Regions from separate parts of the Homo sapiens genome. Here region 2 is linked to region 1. The links are contacts of gene promoters, found by promoter capture Hi-C in human tissues and cell types (Jung and others, 2019). All regions are on one chromosome and are shown on one strand. Each heading gives the region's core, a stretch centred on a gene start or on the middle of the fragment in contact. The rest is flanking DNA. Distances are from core to core; before and after follow the strand shown.

Region 1 (7,699 bases), core at 3,747-6,246:
TAGCCAGGATGGCCTTGATCTCCTGACCTCATGATCCGCCCGCCTCGGCCTCCCAAAGTGCTGGGATTACAGGCGTGAGCCACTGCGCCCGGCTATTTTTTTGAAACGGAGTTCTGCTTTTGTTGCCCAGGCTGGAGTGCAATGGTGCAATCTCGGCTCACTGCAACCTCCACTTCCCTGGTTCAAGCGATTCTCCTGCCTCAGCCTCCCAAGTAGCTGGGATTACATGCATGTGCCACAACACCTGGCTGATTTTTGTATTTTTTAGTAGAGACGGGGTTTCACCATGTTGGTCAGGCTGATCTCAAACTCCTGACCTCAAGTGATCCATCCGCCTCGGGCTCCCAAAGTGCTGGGATTACAGGTGTGTGAGCCACTGCACCTGGCCCCATTCATTTCCCCACAAAATCACATACTACCTCTCAACATTGCTGCACCCCCATTTCCCCTCCCCTGTGAAGAAGGCAGCTACATAAGCATCTGGACCACGTTGGGTTATTAGGTCATCGTTCTCCTGTGGTTTCCTTATGCTTGTACATGTGACATAAATTTTGTACACATTTTTCTCCTATTAATTTGCCAATTGTCAGTTCCTTTTTGGGGAGCCTTTATAGGGCTAGAGAGCAGAAAGGAAGCTTTCCCTTGGCCCTACAGCTCCTTGAGGTCGGCTGTTGACTCTTTTCTTCATTGCTGTCTCTTCAGCGTCTAGAATGGTACCTCCAATGTAGAGATGCTTGATAAACGTGTTGAGCCGGGCACAGTGGCTCACGCCTGTAATCCTAGCACTTTGGGAGGCTGAGGGTGGATCAAGAGGTCAGAGTTAGAAACAAGTCTGGCCAACATGGTGAAACCCTGTCTCTACTAAAAATACAAAAATTAGCAAGGCGTGGTGGTGGATGTCTGTAATCCCAGCTACTTGGGAGGCTGAGGCAGGAGAATCGCCTGAACCCGGGAGGTGGAAGTTGCAGTGAGCCAAGAAAGGGCAGCAGAGCAAGACCCCATCTTGAAAAAAAAAAAAAAAACAAGCAAACAAAAAACAAAAACAAACAAAAAAACATGTGTTGAGTTGCTTTCTGTTTAGTAGCAGAAAGCTCTGGAAGGGCTTTGGACATTCACGCGTGCAGGCCCGGGAACGGGATGAGGTTTAAGGCAACTTCATCTAGAGTTTAAAAGGGGCAGGTAGGCCCACAGCTGGCACGTGGGTTAAATGTAAAGTGGCTCAAACAGGATCTGATAAGGCAGAAGCAGAGATGGGGGCCTGGTGTCTCACTGCCTTCACGTTCTTCCTTCTGCCTCAGTCCCCACATGAGAGTGCACCCTAGAGGTGCCAGCATTAGCGATAGGGCAGCTTTCCTTGTTTCTGGGATGGACAGAAAATGGGCCTTGAGACCCCTCCCATCATAGGAAAGCATCTCTTGCACTCTGGAGACTGAGGACTTGCTATAGTGGAACAAGAAGCAGTCTTCGGCAATGGAGGAGATGCTGGATCTCCATACAGGCAGGGTGGGTGCAACGGAGTGGAGCTGTGGCAAATGTGGGTGCCTCTGTCCTGAGGGTCCTGGATGTGTCATGCCTGGGAACATGAGGGCGTTCTTCCAAGGTGCCCATCTCGACCTCTCTGAGCTGCCATCTTTGACTTCCTGTGTTTGGTCACAGACTAGGGGTGGTCTGTCCCTAAACAGAAGAAGACAAGCAAGGATTAGAGAGGAGAAAGAGCTAGAGAGAGAGCTTGGGAGAGATGTAGGGACAAGGAAAGAAGAGGCAGAAGGAAAAAGGCATGGAGGGAAGGAATATAAAAAAAAACCCCTTAGGCCAGGCATGGTGGCTCACGCCTGTAATTCCCGCACTTTGGGAGGCCAAGGTGGGTGGATCACCTGAGGTCATTTCAAGACCAGCCTGGCCAACATGGTGAAACCCCATCTTTACTAAAAATACAAAAATTAGCCAGGCATGGTGGTGGGTGCCTGTAATTCTAGCTACTCCGGAGGCTGAAGCAGGAGAATCGCTTGAACCCTGGAGGCAGAGGTTGCAGTAAGCTGAGATCAGGCCACTGCACTCCAGCCTGGGTGACAGAGCGAGAATCTATCTCAAAAAAAAAAAGAAAAAAGAAAAAAAGGCCGGGTGTGGTGGCTCACGCCTATAATCCTAGCACTTTGGGGGGCTGAGGAAGGTGGATCACAAGGTCAGGAGATTGAGACCATCCTGGCCAACATGGTGAAACCCCATCTCTAGTAAAATAGAAAAAATTATCTGGGTGTGGTGGTGCGCACCTGTAGTCCCAGCTACTCAGGAGGCTGAGGCAGGGGAATTGCTTGAACCCTGGAGGCAGAGGTTGAAGTGAGTCGAGATCGCGCCACTGCACTCCAGCCTGGCAACAGAGCAAGACTCCATCTAAAAAAAAAGAAAGAAAGAAAGAAAGAAAAATCCTCCCCAGAGCAGGGAAAGATGAAGACATAAAGGGAAGGAGAGTCACCAGGAAAGAGAGAGGGAGAGAGACACAAAACAAAATGGCTGGAATGAGGTGAAAGTTATAGTAGCAGGATGTGCTGACACTGACCTTGGAGAAAAAGAGAGGGGAAGGGAGGAGTGAACGTGGAATCTTTGGCTGCTGTTCTGTTTCACTCCCAGAACTCACCACCCTGGATTCCCCCCATTTCCAGATCCTCAGGCGGGACTGCCTTTGCTATCTGGGATGAGTCATTGGCCCCAGATGGTAAACCTGTGAGGGGTGGGGTGCTCTGAATGCCTGACTAGTCATTTATAATTGAGAGCACTTATTCCAGCCCCTTCTGGTCCTCCATCCTTCCCTCTTCTTGGACCTCCTGATTCAGAGAGGTCAGAGGGCCAGTCCAGGAGGGGTCAGGCACTAGGTCCCTGGAGTCAGTCTTAGGGATTTTAGGCAGAGAGGAATCAGTCCTGAAAATGAAGGGCATACAGAGAAAAAAAAAACTATGACATCACCCCTGGGGGTGTTACAGACCTAAGAAAGAAGCAATGGCCCTGGGCGGCCTACAGCCCCAGGAAGATTCAGCCATGGTACCCAGGAGACTTGAGGGCCCAAAGCCCAGAATTACCCCCAGAGGAACACCTGTAGACCTTCGGATCCTTAGCTTTGCACTTCCCATTGGACTGACTCTGTTTCCTGTGGGGCAATAGGCACGTGTTCACTGTGCACCTGCAGCCCCAGTCATCCTTCTCAGAGAGAAATGGTTTGGGAAGTGTTTGGCATATTGGGGATAAATAGATGAGTGGATAGAAAAAAAAATGCAGGCCAGGCACAGTGGCTCACGCCTGTAATCCCAGCACTTTGGGAGGCCGAGGTGGGCGGATCACGAGGTCAAGAGATCGAGACCATCCTGGCAAACATGGCGAAACCCTGTCTCTACTAAAATTACAAAAATTAGCTGGGCGTGGTGGCGCATGCCTGTAATCCCAGCTACTCGGGAGGCTGAGGCAGGAGAATCGCTTGAACCTGGGAAGCAGAGATTATAGTGAGCCGAGATCGCGCCACTGCCCTCCAGCCTGAGGGATAGAGCAAGACTGTGTCTCCAAAAAGAAGAAAGAAAAAAAAGCAATTACAGCAAAATATTAACCATAGTAGAATCTATACAGTGGTTATATAAGTGTCCACTATACAATTCTTTTTTTTTTTTTCCTTTTTTTGAGACTTGATGTTTCGATCATGGCTCACTGCAACTTTGACCTCCTCAGCTCAAGTGATCCTCTTGCCTCAGCCTCCTGACTAGCTGGGATCACAGGTGTGCACCACCATGCCTGGCTAATTGTTTTATTTTTTGTAGAGACGAGATCTCCCTATGTTGCCCATGTTGGTCCTGAACTCCTGAGCTTAAGCAGTCCTCCTGCTTTGACCTCTCAAAGTGCCGGGATTACAGGCATGAGCCACTGCACCCAGTCTTGCTATACGATTCTTTTGTTTTTTTTTTTTTTTTTTTTGAGATGGAGTCTCACTCTGTCGCCCAGGCTAGAGTGCAGTGGAGTGATCTCAGCTCACTGCAACCTCTGCCCCTCAGGTTCAAGTGATTCTCCTGCCTCAGTCTCCTGACTAGCTGGGATCACAGGCACCTGCCATCACACCCAGCTACTTTTTGTATTTTTAGTACAGATGGGGTTTCGCCATGTTGGCCAAGCTGGTCTCAAACTCCTGACCTCAGGTGATCCAGCTGCCTCAGCTTCCCAAAGTGTTGGATTATGGGTGTGAGCCACTGGGCCCAGCCACTGTACAATTCTTTAAACTTTTATATGTGTTTGGATTTTTCATAATATTAGAAAAGGGAAAGAAAAAAATGTCTGGCAAATAGTCAGCACTCGTAAGTATAAGATTTTGGGAATATATTCCCTTCTGGGAGAATCCACATTTCGAATGCCTGGGAAGGGCTCTGTTTGTCCTGACAGATGGCAGATTTCAGGTGAGAGCACCTACTAAGCCTAGAGGTGATAAGCTACTTTGCCCACCTAGAGCTGCTGGTGGTGACCTTAAGTTTACTATGTTTCTCCTGGTATACGGCACTTGGCCCAGAGTGGACTCCAGCTTGCCACCTGTCACCCAGGCTGGAGTGCAGTGGCGTGATCTTGTCTCACTGCAGCCTCAACGTCCTGGGCTCAGGCGATCTTCCCTACCTCCCTCCTGATTAGTTGAGGCTACAGGTGCTCGTCACCATGCCCGGCTAATTTTTGTTTTTGTTTTTTGTTTTGGTAGAGATGGGGTCTCACACTCTTGCCCAGGCTGAGCTAGAACTCCTGGCCTCAAGCGATCTGCCTCTGCCTCCCAAAGCATTGTAATGACAGGTGTGAGTCACCATGCCCAGCCAGGAACTCAGAGAATCTTACCCTATGCTGTAGTATCTGTTGACTATGGGGTAGAGGCAGGATAAGGTGTTCCAGACCCTGCCTGACACCTGATCCGAAGAGGTTGCTCATGTTTGCTCAGGAGGTGAGGTTCACACAATAAAGGGCAGGAGGAGGGCTTGGACCTGGTATAAAACATCTGGAAGTTTCCAGGGGGCTGCTTTGCATCTGAAACTGTCAGGTGAGGGGTGACAGAGATGCCTGAATCTGAGTTGGGGGGGAATTCAAATCTGAGCTGGCGAAGAGGATGCCTGGAAGGAATGGCAGGAAAGACTTGAGTTAATTGGCGCTTCTGGGTCTGCAGTAATCTTAGGTGCAAAGCTGTCTAGGTCTCTGCTGAAGGACTGGGGACACCTGGGATGTTCAGGAGAATAGAAATGGCCAGATGTGTGTTAGTGGAGAAAAGAATAGTGACACATAGACCAGGCACCTGGGGTCTAATATCTTGAGCTGGTCCCGACTCCTTCTGCAACTTCTCTGTCTGTCCTAGTTCCACCAGCACTGCTTGGATACTGGTGCTGGCACAGTTCCTTCTGTCACCAACTTTGCTCCCCAGGTAACATAGAGGCAACTCTAAAATGCTTCTTTCCTTGAGACCAGGTGGATGCCAGGGATTTAAACCATGCTCCAGGTGCCCCATAATCCAGGCCAATTCACCACAGATGATGAGGCTTTCTTTGCTCAGCCTCTGGGCTCAGTAAACTCAGCCATCTCTTTGCTTGGGAGAGGTCCTCTACTCCCTCCTTAGAAAACTCGTTTCCTGGCTATGGCCATACCAACCCAAATGTACCTGGGCTTGGCTGACTTCAGAAAACTTTTCTGCTTTGTGCCAGGATGGAATAAGGCTTAATCCAGATAGTTAGAGTTCATCTTCAGGCCTGAGAGAAAAAGAGGAGGGCTTGGCTACAGCCAGACCAGGGAGAGCTGGAGGGGTCAGGGACATTGAAGGTAGCATCAGAGAGGAACAGGACTACAGGCTATGGACAGTCCTTTCTAAGCTCAAGACTGGGTCTGCTAGGTCTAAGTTGAAGGACGAAGAAGGCTTGGTCTGAGCTGCAGGTCAGGAGTGCCTGGGTCAATCAAGTCAACAAGGAAGAAGGTGAATCTTCATTTGCTCTTTTCTTCCCACTCCAGCCCCAGAATGTTGACAGTCGCTCTCCTAGCCCTTCTCTGTGCCTCAGCCTCTGGCAATGCCAGTAAGTGAGATACCAGGAGCCTGGTATTGGGGACTTGGGAAGGCAGCCTTGGGCACTGCTGTTGGCCAAGGCTTTTGGAGGTTGGCTTGGGGTGGGGAGCTGAGTTGTCGGAGGAACAGGGGTGATGCAGAGAAACTGAACTCCTGGAAGATTTCTCCCTCCAACTCCTGCTTGCCCCTCCAGTTCAGGCCAGGTCTTCCTCCTATAGTGGAGAGTATGGAGGTGGTGGTGGAAAGCGATTCTCTCATTCTGGCAACCAGTTGGACGGCCCCATCACCGCCCTCCGGGTCCGAGTCAACACATACTACATCGTAGGGTAAGATTCTTTGAATTCCTGGCTGGGCGCGGTGGCTCACATCTGTCATTACAATGCTTTGGGAGGCAGAGGCAGATCGCTTGAGGCCAGGAGTTCTAGCTCAGCCTGGGCAAGATGCCAGGGATGCCAGGGATTTAAACCATGCTCCAGGTACCAAGACCCCATCTCTACCGAAGAAAAACAAAAAAATTAGCCAGGCATGGTGGTGAGTACCTGTAGCCTCAACTACTCAGGAGGGAGAGGCGGGAGGATTGCCTGAGCCCAGGATGTTGAGGCTGCAGTGAGCCAAGATCATGCCACTGCACTCCAGCCTGGGTGACAGAGTCTCTTTGTTGGCAAAATGAGTTGAAGTTCCCTGTAGGATCTTCCAGGGTTCACCCAGGCTTCACAGTCTGTAGGACTAGCCAGAGACCTCTCATCCCTATCATCACCTTTCTTTCTCCTTCCTTCCTCCCCTCTTCCTCAGTCTTCAGGTGCGCTATGGCAAGGTGTGGAGCGACTATGTGGGTGGTCGCAACGGAGACCTGGAGGAGATCTTTCTGCACCCTGGGGAATCAGTGATCCAGGTTTCTGGGAAGTACAAGTGGTACCTGAAGAAGCTGGTATTTGTGACAGACAAGGGCCGCTATCTGTCTTTTGGGAAAGACAGTGGCACAAGTTTCAATGCCGTCCCCTTGCACCCCAACACCGTGCTCCGCTTCATCAGTGGCCGGTCTGGTTCTCTCATCGATGCCATTGGCCTGCACTGGGATGTTTACCCCAGTAGCTGCAGCAGATGCTGAGCCTCCTCTCCTTGGCAGGGGCACTGTGATGAGGAGTAAGAACTCCCTTATCACTAACCCCCATCCAAATGGCTCAATAAAAAAAATATGGTTAAGGCTAGTCTGTGTGGGGGCATCTGTGGCTGGGATATCTGCCTCCTGACTTAGCCGGGGACGTGCAAATCTCACTTCTGGCTGGCTTTGGACATCTGTCTGGAAGATGGGAAGATGAGGGAGAGGTATGTAAGAATCCTGGGCTTTGTGCTATAATTTATCAAGAGGAGATGAGATTCTGGCTTGCATCAACGCTCTTCAAGGACAGCTCCTTGGAACATTGATCCAAACTGGAGTCATGGGTCTGAGGGCAAGGCCTAGTTGTGGCTTACACCAAAACCCCAGATGTCCCACTCTCCAGCTCTCCTCACCCCTGGTCCTCCCCTTGAGAAAGTGGTGAACTCACTTGCTGTGTGTGGGTGGCCAGGACCATTAGCCTTTGTTCTTTCCCAGAACCCACCTGACTCCTGAAACTTAGCTGAAGTCTGTGCCCGAGGACCCTGCCC
Region 2 (7,699 bases), core at 3,418-5,917, 190 kb after region 1:
AATCAGTGGGATCCCTGAGTTTGTTTTCCTGCAACTAGATAGTCCCATCTGATGTTGATGGGAGACAGTGAGAGATCATCAGGCATTAGATTCTCATAAGGAGCAACCTAGATCCCTCGCATGCGCAGTTCACAATAGGATTCATGCTCCTATGATAATCTAATGCCGCTACTGATCTGACAGGAAGCAGAGCTGAGGCGGTAATGCAGGCAATGGGGAGTAGCTGTAAATACAGATGAAGCTTCTCTCACCAGCCATTCACTTCCTGCTGTGCGGCTCAGTTCCTAACACGTCACGGACTGGTACTGGCCCCACGGCCCAGGGGTTGGGGACCCCTGACTTAAACTAAGGGCCAGCTTTCCAGAATAACATCCACTTTGAGGGCTTGTTGAGTGGATTAAGTCAAAATGTTGGTATACTTGGCTGGTGCGGTGGTTCACACCTGTAATCCCAGCACTTCGTGAGTCTGAGGCGGGTGGATCACCTGAGGTCAGGAATTTGAGACCAGCCTGGCCAACATGATGAAACCCCATCTCTACTAAAAATACAAAAAATTAGGCCGGGCGCGGTGGCTCACGCCTATAATCCTAGTACTTTGGGAGGCCAAGGCGGGTGGATCATTTGAGGTCAGGAGTTTGAGATCAGCCTGGCCAATATGGTGAAACCCTGTCTCTACTAATAAGTACAAAAATTAGTCAGGTGATAGTGGCGTGTGCCTGTAATCTCAGTTACTCGGGAGGCTGAGGCAGGAGAATCCCTTGAGCCTGAGAGGCAGAGGTTGAGGTGAGCTGAGATTGGGCTGTTGTTGAGTTGTAGGAGTTCTTTATATATTATAGATATTAACCCCTTATAAGATATATGATTTGATATTTCCTCTCATTCTGTTGGTTGCCTTTTCACTGTCCTTTCCTTTTTTTGTTTTTGTTTTTTGTGGGGCAGAGTTTTGATCTTTTGCCCAGGCTGGAGTGAAGTGGTGCAATCTCAGCTCACTGCAACCTCCACTCCCCAGGTTCAAGCGATTCTCCAGCCTTAGCCTCCGGAGTAGCTGGGATTATAGGCGCCCGGCACCATGCCTGGCTAATTTTGTACTTTTAGTAGAGATGGGGTTTCACCATGTTGGCCAGGCTGGTCTCAAACTCCTGACCTCAGGTGATCCACCCGCCTCGGCCTCCCAAAGTGCTAGGATTACAGGCTTGAGCCACCGTGCCCAGCCTGTTGTGTCCTTCGATGCACAGAAAAGACTCTTTTCTCTACTGAACGCCCACAGCACCCTTGTCAAAAATCATTTGACTAGTCAGGGCACAGTGGCTCACGCCTGTAATCCCAGCACTTTGGGAGGCCGAGGCGAGAGGACTGCTTGAGGTCAGGAGTTCGAGACATGCCTGGGCAACATGGCAAATGGCAAAACCCCGTCTCTACACACAATGCAAAAGTTAGCTGGGCATGGTGGGTGGCGTGTGACTACCGGCTGTCTCAACTACCCAGGAGGCTAAGGCGGGAGGATCTCTTGAGCCCAAGACGTCCAGACTGCAGCGAGCTTTGATTGTGCCACTGAACTCCAGCCTGGGCGATGACAGAGCAAGGCTCTGTCAAAAAAAAAAAAAAAAAAAAAAAAAAATCGGCCGGGTGTGGTGGTTCACGCTTGTAATCCCAGCACTTTGGGGGGCCGATGCGGGCAGACCACGAAGTCAAGAGATCAAGACCATCCCGGCCAACATGGTGAAACCTCGTCTCTACTAAAAATACAAAAATTAGCTGGGCGTGGTGGCGTGCGCCTGTAGTCCCAGCTACTCGGAAGGCTGAGGCAGAAGAATAGCTTGAATCCGGGAGGCGGAGGTTGCAGTGAGTCGAGATCGCGCCACTACACTCCAGCCTGGCGACAGACTGAGACCCCGTCTCAAAAAAAAAAAAAATCATTTGTATATGCGAAGGTTTTGTGCCACAAACTTTTGTGGCTGTTGATACAAACGACATGGCCTCTGCCTTAAGGAAGCCACAGTCGAATTAAATAGATTCCGTTTCAAGTAGCATCTGTCCTGTGTGCTTAGTGGGCACTGGGCCCATGTTTTCCCACATTTTACCCTTTAAGCTTCTGATCCAACCGGTGAGATAGATAGGATGATCCTCTTTAGTAGAGGGGTAAGCTTAGTCCCCTGAGAGCGCGGCTATGGCTTATGCGAGGGTACGGACAGTCAGGATTTGAACCCAAAGTTCCTGGCTCCATGTGTCATGCTACCTCCAGTCAGATGTTCTCACCTCCAAAACTTGGGCAGAAGTGAACTGAGATGCTCTCTACTGAGCAACTCTTCAGCTCCAGCATCCTATACATTAAGGAGTCACTAAAAGTCAGGGTCCACGAGAAAGGTGCAGATCGGGGTGCACAGAAGAGCGGAGTCCAAAACACCACTCCCAGCCCCAGTGGACAGAGTCCTCAAGTGGCAGCCCTGCAACTCTGAGCGGATGCCGAGTCCTCACCGGGAACCCGGGCGCGGCTGGTCTGTGCTATTGGCGCGGGTAGGGGACGCACAGCCCAAAAATGCCCGCGACAAGCTTCTGGGGCAGTTCTCGCCAGTCTCTCTGGAGGGAGCCTACGGGTTCTGCGACGTTTCTCGCACTTGCTCCCTGGCCTCGCTCCCGTTTCCACCCCTCCCACGGAGGTTTTCCTTTCTGGTGGCTCCTTCCTTGGGTGTCCCTTTGGTACGCCCCCACCCTGGCGGTGAGCTGCGAGGCTGGCGCCCGCGTGGCCACTGCGCATGCGGACCCGGCCGCGGGGCGGGGCCGCGCGAGGAGGAGGGTCGGGGACGGAAGCGCAGAGCACGGACCCCGCCCCCTCGCGGCCCCGCTCGTGACGTCGCGGGGGGCGCCGGCCTCCGCCCGGCCCCGAGGGGTAAGAGCGAGCGGCTGGCGGATCCGACGCGCGAGACCGGGAGGGGACGAGGGCGTTGCAATCGTTCGGGGCGGGGGCTTTCCGGGGAGGGGGTGCTCAGGTGCACCAGCGGCGGCGGACCCTCAGACTCTGCCCTCCCCTCCCTTTAACCCCCTTCCAGCCGGACGGGAGGCGGGGCAGGGCTGAGCATTTGTGACACCTACATTTCCGTGGCTCCCTTCTTTTCCCCCGACCCCTGTTTATCTCTTCGCCTTCCAGAAGTTCTTTTCCATCAGGCCGTCGCACCTTGCGTGGGAAGGAGCACCCCACTTGGAAGCAGGAGGCGGGGTTCAGATCTTGGCCCTACCCCTCCTGTGTTAAAGTCCGCGAGCCTCAGTTTCCCTCACAGTATTTTTTGCCTCGCCTTACCCGGTTTTGAGGATCTGTACGAGAAAGAGAAAGGAAGTGGACATTTGTTGAATTCCTGCATGGCCAAATACCACGCAGACTGCTTCATCCGCCACGTTTAATCCTTATTACTTGGTGTTCTCAGAACTCCCATTTCATGGATTCTTAAGCTCACAGAGTCAGTGAATAACAGAAAGGGATTCAGATCTAGCCGTTTAGCTGCACAGTGGAGTTCTTCTCCAGAGTCTTCCCTTGTCTGGGCTCTGGCTGGAACTATTCCTCAGCCAAATCCTCGCCCCAGAACAGTGCTTCCTGTTTCTCCAGCTGAGAAGTCTCCCTTTCAGTTTCCTTCTTCCAGCACGGAGTACACTGCTCTGCCTCCACTTAGATTACTTCAGAAATGAAATGCAGCAAATATTTATCCAGCAGTGCAGGGAGTTGAACTTTTGGAGTCGGGAACCTTGGATTCTTGTTCTGGCTCTGCCACTTACTGTGTGGCCTTGGGAAGTCCTTTGTCTTCTCTGAGCTTTCTTTTCTCTTTGCGTAAAAGCGGTGCTCTTGTCCCATTCTCCCTCCCTGTCTTCCAGCAGGCTCTCCCCGGAGGCTCAGCCCCCTCTGCTCCCCATGGGCAACTGCCAGGCAGGGCACAACCTGCACCTGTGTCTGGCCCACCACCCACCTCTGGTCTGTGCCACTTTGATCCTGCTGCTCCTTGGCCTCTCTGGCCTGGGCCTTGGCAGCTTCCTCCTCACCCACAGGACTGGCCTGCGCAGCCCTGACATCCCCCAGGTAAGTTCCCCACCCCCGTACCCGCTCTTCCTTCCAACCTAGACAGGCTTTTGCTGCTAATCTCATCTCACCCGTCTTCTTTTGCTCACAGGACTGGGTCTCTTTTTTGAGATCTTTTGGCCAGCTGACCCTGTGTCCCAGGAATGGGACAGTCACAGGGAAGTGGCGAGGGTCTCACGTCGTGGGCTTGCTGACCACCTTGAACTTCGGAGACGGTCCAGACAGGAACAAGACCCGGACATTCCAGGCCACAGTCCTGGGAAGTCAGATGGGATTGAAAGGTGAGATCAGAGGCTGGGTGTGGTGGCTCACGCCTGTAATCCCAACACTTTGGGAGGCTAAGGTAGGTGGATCATTTGAGGTCAGGAGTTCAAGACCAGCCTGGCCAACATGATGAAACACCATCTCTACTAAAAATACAAAAATTAGCCAGGCATGGTGGCAGGCGCCTCTAATCCCAACTACTCGGGAGGCTGAGGAAGGAGAATCGCTTGAACCCAGGAGATGGAGGTTGCAGTGAACCGAGATCGCACCATTGCACTCCAGCCTGGGTGACAGAGCAAGACTCTGTCTCAAAAAAAAAAAAAAAAAAAATCAGGTGCGGTGGCTCATGCCTGTAATCCCAGCACTTTGGGAGTCCGAGAAGGGCAGATCACGAGGTTAGGAGTTCGAGACCAGCCTGGCCAACATGGTGAAACCCCGTCTCTACTAGAAATACAAAAATTAACCTGGTGGTCTGGTTGCGGTGGCCCACAGCGGTAATCCCAGCAGTTTGGGAGGCCGAGGCGGGCAGATCATGAGGTCAGGAGTTTGAGTCCAGCCTGACCAACATGGTGAAACCCCATCTCTACTAAAAATACAAAAATTAGCCGGGCATGGTTGCACGTGCCTGTAATCCCAGCTACTCAGGAGGCTGAGGCAGGAGAATCACTTGAAGCCAGGAGGCGGAGGTTGCAGTGAGCCGAGATCGTACCACTGCACTCCATCCTGGGCAACAGAGCAAAACTCGGTCTCAAAAAAAAAAATTAGCCAGGCTTGGTGGTGCAAGCCTGTAGTTCCAGCTACTTGGGAGGCTGAGGCAGGAGAATTGCTTGAACCCGGGAGGTGGAGGTTGCAGTGAGCCAAGATCGTGCCACTGTACTCCAGCCTGGGAGACAGAGCAAGACTCCGTCTCAAACAAACAAACAAACAAAAATACAAAAAGTAGCCAGGTGTGGTGGCAGGTGCCTGTAGTCCCAGCTACTTGGGAGGCTGAGGCAGGAGAATCGCTTGAACCTGGGAGGCGGAGGTTGCAATAAGCAGAGATCACACCACTGCACTCTAGCCTGGGCAACAGAGACTCTGTCCCGCCCCGCGCCCCCCCCACCACCCTGCGCCAAAAAAAAAAAAGTAAGGTGAGATCACAGAGGACTGTGGGGTCGGGTATCAGAACACTCAGGGCTGGGCCCTGCCTCTGACCTCACCAATGATGACCTTGGGCACATCCCTGGACTTTAGTCACTTCTGTGATTAGGGCTTTCAGTGAACATGCTGCCGACAGGGTAGGTTTTCTATGAATGCTTTCTTCCTCTGCCAGTTCTGATGTTCTTTGAGTCTATCCTTGGAGGTAGGATGAAATGGGCTAGGTTTGACCTAATGTTTTCTCATCCTTTAGCCACCTCCTCCTAGAGGCCCCTTTTTCCTTAGCATAGTTCTGTATGCCACAAAAGATGCAGAAAAAAATTAGACACCATCAATTTCCAAAGAGCTATAGTCTTCTGGGAAAATGACAAGCGATAGGGAGAATGTGAAAATGTCAGTGGATGCCAATAATCCCTGTGTGACATTTGGCCTTATCTAAAATATGCTAAGATAAAGAGGGATGGAAGAGGGTGGTATTTTCTGACTTCTGAGGTCCTTTACAACACTATCATTCTAAGATTCTCCTGTGAGTATATATGTGTCGGGGGAGTGGGTCTCTGCATGTCCAGATGTACATGTATGTTAACAAAAATAAGGAATGTGTCCGATATATGCAGACTTGGGACAATTCTTTCCCATTCTTTTTACTTTTAAATAGATATATAATAGTTTTATTGAGATATGATTCATGTACCATACAATTCACCCATTGAAAGTGTACAGTTAGGGCCGGATGTGGTGGCTCATGCCTGTAATCCCAGCACTTTGGGAGGCCAAGGCAGGCAGATTGCTTGAGCGCAGGTGTTCGAGACCAGCCTGGACAAAATGGCAAGACTCTGTCTCTACTAAAAATACAAAAAAAAAAAAAAAAAAAAGCCAGGCGTGGTGGTGCACACCTGTGGTCCCAGCTACTTGGGAGGCTAAGGTGGGAGGATTGCTTATCCCTGGGAGGCAGGGCTTGCAGTAAACATTCTCCTGCCTCAGCCTCCTGAGTAGCTGGGATTACAGGTGCTCGCCATCACGCTCACCTAATTCCCGCCCCCCAGCCCAAGGAGTCTTGCTCTGTCACCCAGACTGGAGGGCAGTGATGCGATCTCAGCTCACTGAACCTCTGCCTCCCAGTTTCAGGAGATTCTCCTGCCTCAGTCTCCCAAGTAGCTGGGATTACAGGCATGTGGCACCATGCCCAGCTAATTTTTGTATTTTTAGTAGAGATGGGGTTTCACCATGTTGGCCAGGCTGGTCTTGAACTCCTGACCTCATGATCCGCCCGCCTTGGCCTCCCAAAGTGCTGGGATTACAGGTGTGAGCCACTGCGCCTGGCCAATTTTTGTATTTTTTATAGAGATGTGGTCTCACTATGTTGCCCAGGCTAGTTTCAAACTACTGGGCTCAAGTGATCCTCCTGCCTCACCTCCCAAAGTGCTGGGATTACAGGCATGAGCTACCGGGTCTGGCGTATTACCCAATTGTTTTATTTACTTTCTCTTGATTGCTAGTAAGGTTGAGCCTCTTATGGTTTATTGTCTGTATTCATGTTGCCTGTGAATTACCTGTTTGTTTCCTTTGTTCCTTTTTCTTTTAAGTTATTTGTCTTTTTCTTCTTGATTTGTAGGTCTTTATTCTAGATAGTAAACCTTTTGTCATTTAAATATATTATAGGTATTTTCAATATGTTACTTGTTTTTTTAACTTATCTTTCATTGCATAGAAGTCTTTAATTTTTATGAGGTTAGGTTTATCACTCTTGTCCTTTATTAAAACTTTTAGGTTTTGTGTCTTTCATAGGAAGCCCTTCCTCATTTTAAAATTAGAAAATATTCTGGCCAGGCGTGGTGGCTCATTCCTATAATCCCAGCCTTTGGAAGGCTGAGGCAGGTGGATCACCTGAGGTCAGGAGTTCAAGACTGGCCTGGCCAACATGATGAAACCCCGTCTCTACTAAAAATACAAAAAATTAGCCAGGCATGGTCGTGGGCACCTGTAATCCCAGCTACTCACAAGGCTGAGGCAGGAGAATTGCTTAAACCTAGGAGGTGGAGGTTGCAGTGAGCTGAGATTGCACCACTGCACTCCAGCCTGGGCAACAAGAGTGAAACTCTGTCTCAAAAATAATAAAATAAAATAAAATAAAATAAAATATTCTGTATTTTCTTTAAATACTTAAGTTTTTTTTTAGTTTGTATAGTTCTTTAATACATCTGAACTTTATTTTATAAGATAACAGTTTGACGC

Evidence for each region. The method cuts DNA at HindIII sites, captures the fragments that hold promoters and counts their contacts. A contact is called where the count stands out against the background at its distance.
Region 2: a contact is called between a fragment that was not itself captured here and the fragment with the promoter of ZG16 in region 1, in 1 of the 25 tissues and cell types used here (mesenchymal stem cells).

What each region holds. Positions count from the first base shown.
Region 1 is chr16:29,773,260-29,780,958 of GRCh38, forward strand. ZG16 (zymogen granule protein 16) reads left to right here and starts at 4,997. Exons shown (of 4, transcript NM_152338.4): 1 at 4,997-5,047; 2 at 6,001-6,062; 3 at 6,246-6,378; 4 at 6,845-7,699. The coding sequence starts at 6,008. The coding sequence ends at 7,160. RefSeq lists an enhancer at 2,509-2,803. The HindIII fragment of the contact is 7,779 bases long and covers 1-6,184 here.
Region 2 is chr16:29,959,246-29,966,944 of GRCh38, forward strand. It overlaps TMEM219 (transmembrane protein 219), which reads left to right and starts at 2,834. Exons shown (of 6, transcript NM_001083613.2): 1 at 2,834-2,887; 2 at 3,862-4,063; 3 at 4,155-4,344. The coding sequence starts at 3,899. RefSeq lists an enhancer at 2,207-2,316 and a silencer at 2,667-3,116. The HindIII fragment of the contact is 7,005 bases long and covers 1,166-7,699 here.